3 separate regions of the Homo sapiens genome follow, and all the other regions are linked to region 2. Evidence: promoter capture Hi-C in 16 types of primary human blood cells and fetal thymus (Javierre and others, 2016). All regions are on one chromosome and are shown on one strand. Each heading gives the region's core, a stretch centred on a gene start or on the middle of the fragment in contact. The rest is flanking DNA. Distances are from core to core; before and after follow the strand shown. Region 1 holds the start of LOC105371778 (a long non-coding RNA gene). Region 2 holds the start of KRTAP1-3 (keratin associated protein 1-3). Region 3 has its middle 16 kb from the start of KRT33A.

Evidence for each region. Contacts are between HindIII fragments. The CHiCAGO score rates a contact against its expected background, and 5 or more counts as called.
Region 1: a fragment that was not itself captured here is called in contact with the fragment with the promoter of KRTAP1-3 in region 2 in 1 of 17 cell types (total CD8 T cells); the score reaches 5.4 in total CD8 T cells.
Region 3: a contact is called between a fragment that was not itself captured here and the fragment with the promoter of KRTAP1-3 in region 2, in 1 of 17 cell types (naive B cells). The highest score is 7.3, in naive B cells.

What each region holds. Positions count from the first base shown.
Region 1 is chr17:41,351,395-41,354,094 of GRCh38, forward strand. LOC105371778 (a long non-coding RNA gene) reads left to right here and starts at 103. Exons shown (of 2, transcript XR_001753056.1): 1 at 103-209; 2 at 1,028-2,404. The HindIII fragment of the contact is 650 bases long and covers 945-1,594 here.
Region 2 is chr17:41,033,547-41,036,246 of GRCh38, forward strand. It overlaps KRTAP1-3 (keratin associated protein 1-3), which reads right to left and starts at 1,328. Exons shown (of 1, transcript NM_030966.2): 1 at 338-1,328. The coding sequence starts at 1,275. The coding sequence ends at 772. The HindIII fragment of the contact is 12,344 bases long and covers 1-2,700 here.
Region 3 is chr17:41,333,907-41,336,606 of GRCh38, forward strand. No RefSeq gene overlaps it. Among named protein-coding and RNA genes, the nearest start is that of KRT33A, 16 kb to the right of the region's middle. The HindIII fragment of the contact is 1,879 bases long and covers 445-2,323 here.

The DNA.
Region 1 (2,700 bases), core at 20-2,519, 320 kb after region 2:
GACAATTTCATCCAGGGCGATGTAATAGACACTGGGAGGGGTGGAAAATAGGACTCAATGCTATGGTCAGAAGAAGTTCTTACTTGTTAAGAAACTGCACAAGCCCAAGGTAGTGTGGACACTTTTCACAAACTAGATCCTTTTTACAAACATGATCCTCAAACATGCAGAACTTAGATGTCCATTATTCCTCACCAGAACTCTTAAAGGTAAACTGTATAATTCCCATTTTATAGATGAGAACACCAAGGCATAGAGGGTGAGGATAATAAGTTGTGGACCTAGGATTCCAAAGCAGATCACTTTTCTTTTCATCACAACACTTGGCTTAAATATAAATGGCTTACTTCCTTCCCTTCTTCAGACAGGCCGTCCCTTTCTCCTCTCCAAGCTCTCTTTTTACCTTGAGCATGACACTGTCATGACTTATGTGCTTGTCTCTCTGTCTCTATTTGAGGTCCCTGAAGGCAAGGGCAGGGTCTAGTTTGTCTTTGAATCCCCAGCTCTAGGCACCTGGTAGGCACTGTTGAATGGGTGTGGGTAGAGTGATGAAGGGATGAACAGGAAATAATAATCTGAGGCAGAAGTTGACAAGTGATAACTGAGTGGTTTACACACTGGGGAGGGCGAGCAGCTCCAGGATTGGAGGCTCTTAGGAATGGATGAATGGATTTGTGCTGGGATAGGGAGGCTTCTAAGAAGCAGAGGGGAGAAAAGTAGGAAGTGCAGGTGAGGAGAATAATGTGCACACAGGAATGGGGTGGGAAAGCCCAAGGCATGGTTGAAGGACCAGGGTAAGTCTAGGCAGCAGGAAGGGGAGAGTTGTGAAGGGAAGTGCTAGAAATTAAAGCTTTATGGGGGATTGTATGGGGACCCTATGGTAGGGGGTCTCGATGGTGAAGTGGAGCAGCTTGGACTTCCCCAGAAGCTGTAGAGCCAGTATAAGCTTTTGAACCTAAGTGTGGTGTGACAAAAGGTGTTTTAGGAAATGTTTTAGCAAATATTTATCTGTTTTTGAAAAATGAAGGAAAGATTGGAGGCAAAGAGTTCAGCAAAGAGACTATTGCAACAGTCCATGCAAGACTAGAATTTATGGCAGGGATGATGATACAGATAAGGTTTAGTACAAGTGAGAGAGTTAGAGAACTGGGCCAAGGGAGAGTACAAAGAGAAGAGCAACAAGGAGCTGAGGACCAAACTTTGGAGAATTTCCCAATCAGAGATCAGGAGAAGGAAAAAGAATCTGTGATAAATGGAGAAATGGTGAGAAAAAAATGATAAAAACAAGTTCATGGCATCCCAGAAGGGCAGGAAGGAGGGTGCTTCCAAGAGGAGGTGATGTTAGAAGTGCCAAGTGCAGCAAAGGGGCCGCACATGATCAGGACCATGGAGAGGGTATTGGCTGCCTTGACCAGAAATTTACCAGGACCTTTCCAGGGTCACACAGGTATGCCTGCTGTACGCAGCGCCTGTGCACATTCTTAAAGTAATGCCCACAGTGAACTTCGGTAAACCAAGACTTCAAACACACAGAATTGAGATGTTCATTACTTAGAGAAGTTCTGCTGCAATAAATTTATATATCTGATTATTAAGCTTGGAGCTTTGATCTTACCAATACAGACTTTTATACAATAATTGGAGTGGGCTTTACGCAGATGCCAGACTTGTTTGAACTTGATGATTCGTAATAGTTTATTATTTAGGAACAATTATCCAAGAAGCATGAGTAATCTGAACTGACCGTGCATATGACACCACTTCTGTTTTGTCACAAGATGTAAGATGAGCCTTATTTGATATCCTAAAGAGGCAATGAGGAAAAAATTCAAGTATGGGCCTGAGGAGGCATACATTGGCCAGAAAGAGGAGGGGCTTCCTATGTCCTTGCTAGCAGAGGATAAAGCAGACAACAGATTCCAAGCCTCCCAGCTACAGCTACCAATCCAAGCAGCTTCCAAGCCTCCCAGCTACAGCTACAGACCAAAAACCAGATGGCTTTGCATTTGGCTCTTCTCTTCCTCCCTCTTACCTCCTAACATAGATCCTAAATATGAAAATGGTTAAAAGAGAGAGGGAAAATCTTGGAACAAGATATTGGGGATCCTAATGGTCAACTCATCCAAACCGTTCGTTTTACGAAGGGGAAACTGAGGCTCAGAATGGAGAAATGCCTTGCTTAGTATCATCTAGCTAGGACCCAGATCTTCTGATTCCCACTGCATTATCAGCCCAATCACCATTCTACTGAAATGTTGAAGAATTTCACAAACAATCTGATCTGTTATTACCTAAGGACAGAAATCAAGGGCAGTGAGAAAAACATCTTGTTAACCATAGATATGCTGTGTTGAAGAAGAATTATGAGTCAATGTGTAAATAAAGATAGAATTCAGCAATAGTACAGTTTCTTGTTAACTCTCTGATTTCAATTATTTCTAAGTTGATGATACAATTATATACCAACAATTTGGAGTAATTTAAACATAATTATATCCCATCAGATATAGATTATATCCCATCTGTTTGGAGCAACTTAGAACAATTGGTCAAACAATGGTGACCCTACTCGACAGCAATATGCTTATCCAGAGTAAGGTACACAAAAGATAGTCACAACAAAATTAAACTATTATTAAAATGGGGACAATTGAGAGATTAAAGAAAACACACCACAATGACACTGGATGCTATTAAATG
Region 2 (2,700 bases), core at 78-2,577:
GACCTCGTGATCTGTCTACCTTGGCCTCCCAAAATGCTGGGATTACAGGTGTGAGCCACCGTACCCAGCCAGAGATTTTGATTTCTGTAACTTCCTGGTTGTGAAAGCACTGTGTAAGGTTAAGTTATGGTAACAGAGCCTTTGCCATTTCTGAGGCCCTAAATAACTACACTTACTCTATGTTTTTATGGTCATTAACCTCCACTGGACCTCTGGATAACAAATTTCCTAATGTGGTATTAGAAGAGAAGGGATATCAAAAGCAGATTAAAGTTTTTCATATGACATTCTATGAAATATACATCCTGAGTACACTCAATGAAAAAAAAAAGATATGTTTGTTGCACCAATAGTTAAAATTTATTAGACCTTGGTATATTATTCCTCTTTCATAGGGGGTGCAATTTGCAGGACGGTGGGATACAGGAAGTGAGTGTCCTGAGAAGGACAGATGGCTCTTCCATGGTCTCGTCGGCGCTGAGACTCAGAGCGTGGGCTTCAATGCTTGCAAAGGCTCAGTTTCAAGGTAAATCGGCTTTTTCATTTCTTGGGTCAAATTTGTATTTTGGCGTCCTCAGAGAGAAGAGTAAGGTCTTTCTGGAATTGAAAGGAATCAGATAATTCTGAGGCCAAAATATTTGGTAACCCCCATAAGAAAGACAAAGAAAGGTTGAAGAATTTGTTCGTTGTCCATAAGTGCTTGAAGAAATAATTCGTTCATGAATGGAACTGAAAGTGGAAATTTCAAGTTGAAAATCAGCAAACTGGCTTTTAGCAGGTGGGCTCACAGGAGTAGCAGCAGCAGACTGGGCGGCAGCAGGACTGTCCACAGTAGGATGGGCGGCAGCAGGAGGCCTCGGCGTGGTGCAGCTGGCAGCAGGTTGGGGGTGTGCAGCTCACCACACAGCAGGGGGGCAGGCAGGTACCCTCCACACGGCAGTCTGGGCGGCACCACCTGATACGGGTGCTCACAGCTCCACTGCTGCCCTCCTGGCCATAGCCAATGCCACCACCAATGCCACAGCCAGTTCCGCAGGAGCTGGTCTGGCAGCAGCTTGGCTGGCAGCAGCTGGTCTCACAGCAGCTTGGCTGGCAGCAACTGGAGCTGCAGGTCCCACTAGTTGAGAAGCTAGGAAATCCGCAGAAGCTGGTCTGGCAGCAGCTTGGCTGGCAGCAGCTGGTCTCACAGCAGCTTGGCTGGCAGCAGCTGGAGCCGCATGTCCCACTGGTGGAGCAGCTGGGATATCCACAGAAGCTGGTCTGGCAGCAGGTCATGGTGTTGGGAGCTGGTATGAAGTCTGGGTTGCTTGGAGGAGTTTCTGAGTTTTGGTGATGGCTGCCACATTGGGCCTTTTATAAGCCTGGGCCAGCTACTGTTTACATAATTCCAGAAGTCTCTTGCTTATTTGTGTTGGATAATTTGTCTCTGAATGATAATTGGCCTCTCCCTGAATTATTTGTTGAACCTACTGAGAGCCTTTGAAAGTTGATTGTATTTGGTCTGCAATTAGGCTTCTTTACCATGGTCAAGAAGTCATTGGCATTAATTAGGAATATGATCCCTAACTCCTCATGTTTCTTAAAATTTCCTCATGGTCAAGGAATAATTGACTGATGCCTCACCTTTAAGGATTGTCAATATTACTCAGTGTTGACCCTTACAACTGGGTGATTGGGTCTCACATGACAGTTTAATTCCCTCCAATTTTAACTGTGGCTCCTTCTCTAACTTTCTTATCTTCCCTTTGACTGTGAAGCAAGACTATATTCAGCTGGCCAGAAAGGGATGCTTTCTTGGGCCTGGGAGATTTGCATTAATTGCTATTGATAACATTTTCCCATCACTGATTATGTGCCTAAATAGTTCTGAGTACTTCGCATGTATCAATTTGCTGAATTTTCACGGCAATCTATGGGCTAGGTATCACTGCCACTCCCATCAACCATGTGAGAAAACTGAGCCACAACAGGTTGAAGTAACTTACCCTAGTTCACACTAGTATCTAGTGAATCTGAAATTTGAATCCACAACCTCTGATTCCAGACTAAACTCTTTAAACACTATAGTCAATTCTTTCTCTCTTTCTCTCTGTCTTTCTCCCTTCCTTCCTTCCTTCCCTCCTTTCTTCTTTCTTTCTTTCTTTCTTTCTTTCTTTCTTTCTTTCTTTCTTTCCTTCTTTCTCTTTCTTTCTTTCTTTCCTTTCTTTCTTTCTTTCCTTCCTTCCTTCCTTCCTTCCTTCCTTCCTTCCTTCCTTTCTTTCTTTCTTTCTTTCTTTCTTTCTTTCTTTCTTTCTTTTTCTTCTTTCTCCTTTCTTTCTTTCCTTTCTTCTTTTTTTATGTAAAAAGTCATTCTAAGGAAATTCCAATGGTGAAAGCAAGCCGTAAAAATTTGCTTCCTTTCTTACGGACTTTTTTGAGAGTAAAAGGAAGGAAGGGAGAGCTTAGGGTAAGTAATAACACAGTTTACTACAGCCATTCCTAGAGATTTTATTTATTTATTAACAGCATAATAAGCACAGTTCAAGAAAATCTTAAGTGCTAAAAAAGTTAACCTTCTTGTGACTTTGTCTCATCTTTTATCTTAGGATATTCTATAGATTTAGATTTTTTAACTGCATAAAATTATAGTTTTTAACATATTAATACTGGAGTATGTGATTTACTACAGAGTGTTAGATCGGCTGTATGCAGTTTATTATA
Region 3 (2,700 bases), core at 134-2,633, 300 kb after region 2:
CATCCATTCATCCATTGGCCCACCTCTAGTACTGTCCCAACTACAGCCCTAGCAAGCGGAGACAACAAAAAGACCAGTTTTCCAGCTTTGTGGTCTTGGAAGAAGTTGCTACCAGTATGAGGAGAGACAATCAGTTTCCTCCAGGATCCAGAGAGCATATCAGCCAGCCTGAGGGTCAGGAAAGGAGGTCGGCCTCTCCACCAGCTAGACAGGCCTGCAGTAGGATGGGGCTGGGGCTGGCCATGCAGATCACTTGGGCCTCATGAGGGGAAAAGAAAGACCAGGGGGCAGAGGAGGAGCATGGGGGCAGCTGGTGGCCTCAGAAGAAGGCACCTCAGAGAAGGGGTCTGTCTTAGTTTGTTTTGTTTTCACACTGCTATGAAGAAATACCTGAGACTGGGTAATTTATCAAGGAAAGAGGTTGAATTGACTCACAGTTCAGAAAGCTTGCAATCATGGTGGAAGGCGAAGGGGAAGCGGGCATCTTCTTCACAAGGCAGCAGGAGGGAGTGAGAAAACGAGGAAGTGCCATGCTTTAAAACCATCTGCTCTCCTGAGAACTCACTCACTATCAGGGGAACAGCATGGGGGAACCCAGCCCCCTATAATACAATCACCTCCCATGAGGTTCCTCCCTTGACACATGGGGATTACAGCTCAAAATGAGATTTGGGTGGGGACACAGAGCCAAACCTATCAGTGTCTCACGTCTTGCAGCTCCCCTGGGGCTAAAGCTGAATGCAGATCTGCTGACCCTGATCTACAGCTTGCGGAAGCTCTGCCTGTGTGCCCCCATCTGCTGCTTCCTAGGGTTGGGGCCTGCTTCCTCAAAAGGAGAGTGGATCTGTTCTCCTGCCAGCCCCCCACAGGGCCTTGTGGAGCCCTGGCCATGTCCTCCCAAGGTGAGGTCATAAAACTGGGCTCCTTGCCCTTCTTGTTGCTTGGGTGACAAGCCTCGGGTCATCCCTAGGTCCTGTCACTGCTCCTGCTTCTAAAAGGAGAGCATTTTGCCAAATCTTCCTGGGAGAGGCTGGGGGCTCATCCCTGTTATTTGTTCTAGCTTGGTAAAATGAGGTTAAGACATCTAGGCAAGCAGACAATAGAGGGGCACCCAGGAAGGGTGGGTGGCGGGTGCTGGCATTTGGGCTTGCCTGGACCTTGTGGGGAGGGGGAAAGGTTACCAGGAGGCAGCACTGTCAGTCAGGGCTAAAGTCAGGAAGTGGGGGGAGTGGGGGCAGAGTGTGGCTGGCTTGCGGGGGGGCATAAGTGAGAGCCAAGATTTGTCAGCATGCAGTGGGTGTGGCTGACACCTGGCCTAGGGGCTGTGGAGCCCAGTGGTTGCTCTTAGTTCCTGGATCCAGGGAGATTTCTGGAGCCTGTGCCTGGGGCTTTCTAGGGGTGAAGATGGTGAGGGGCAGGGAAAGGGTGGCAGAGGAGGCCTTGCATGGCAGGGTGCAGGGCAGGATGCTGGGCAGGGACCAGATTGCAGTGGCTGCTCTCATCCCCACCACTACCCCTACCTCTACCCCAACCCTGGAGCAGGGTGGGGCCTTGGCAGGTGTCCTCTGTTTTGGCCTCGGCAGATCACAGGATGGAAGCCAGCAGTCCAATAGGCGTGCCACTCAAGCCAGCAGTGACCTGCAGCTTCTGCTTCCTGGAGAGTGGGGTGCCCACCCAAGAGAGCACAAGCACACCCCACACCCCTGACCTTGAGGGCACTGGGAGGTGGGGGCACTGTACTGGGACCAAGTCCCGGCAGCCTTGTGCGTGTGCCCTGGAAGGTAGCCTAGGAGTCCTGCGTGTGCCTCTCTGCACAGCAGGGAGGGGTGGGCAGGAGCCTGAACAGTGGCAGAGAGGGAGAGGAGGAGGGAGAGAGAAGTGGAGAAGGAGAGAGAAAGAGACATGGGAAGAAAGGAGTGAGAGAGAGAAAGAGAGATGGGGAGAGAGACAGAGACAGAGGAGGCTGAGAGGGAGTGTGGGGAGAGAGATAAGGAGAGAGACATAAAAGGTAGAGAGAGAGACAGGGAGAGATGCGCATGAGCAGAGGTCAGGTCACTCTTGATCTTAGTTCCCAGTGCAAACTGTAGGTCACCATCACCTGCCCACACATGCACTAAAGAGCTCTGTGCCTGCTGCCCACAGCCCCTGAGAACTCCTTCTCTTGAAGAATAAAACTTTTGATGGCTGCCATTCCTCACTGGATTTTGGTTGTGTCTTTGATGAACCATGATGTCCCACCTTCCCGGGCTCAAGTCTCCACCAAAAGCTGATGCCTCTTTTTGGGAGGCTCTGCAGTGCCTTCATCTCACTAGGCTCCCCAGGAAGCTTGTGAGCTTGGGTTGGACCCTAAGCAGTCAGATACATGCTGGGGCTCTGCTTGTCTCTTTCACTAACAGGGAAAGCCAAGAAAGAGATTGAAGCATGGTCTGCAGAGAAGGCACTTGTGCAAACACCAGGAGAACAAGAAGCCTGAGTTGTCTTCATTTCTCTTAAAAACACTCATTCCCTCCCATGCCACCTTAGTGAGGGCATGAAGCACAGCATGTGTGTGTATGTGTGCAGGTATGTGCACATGTATGTATGTGCATGTGTGTGTGTGTTGCAGGGGTGTGCTGTGGACAGGAGGTCCAGGGGGCAGCTCCAACTCAAAGCTGCAAGTCTCTGTGATAGAATGGTCAAGATTCACTGGACCACAGCAAG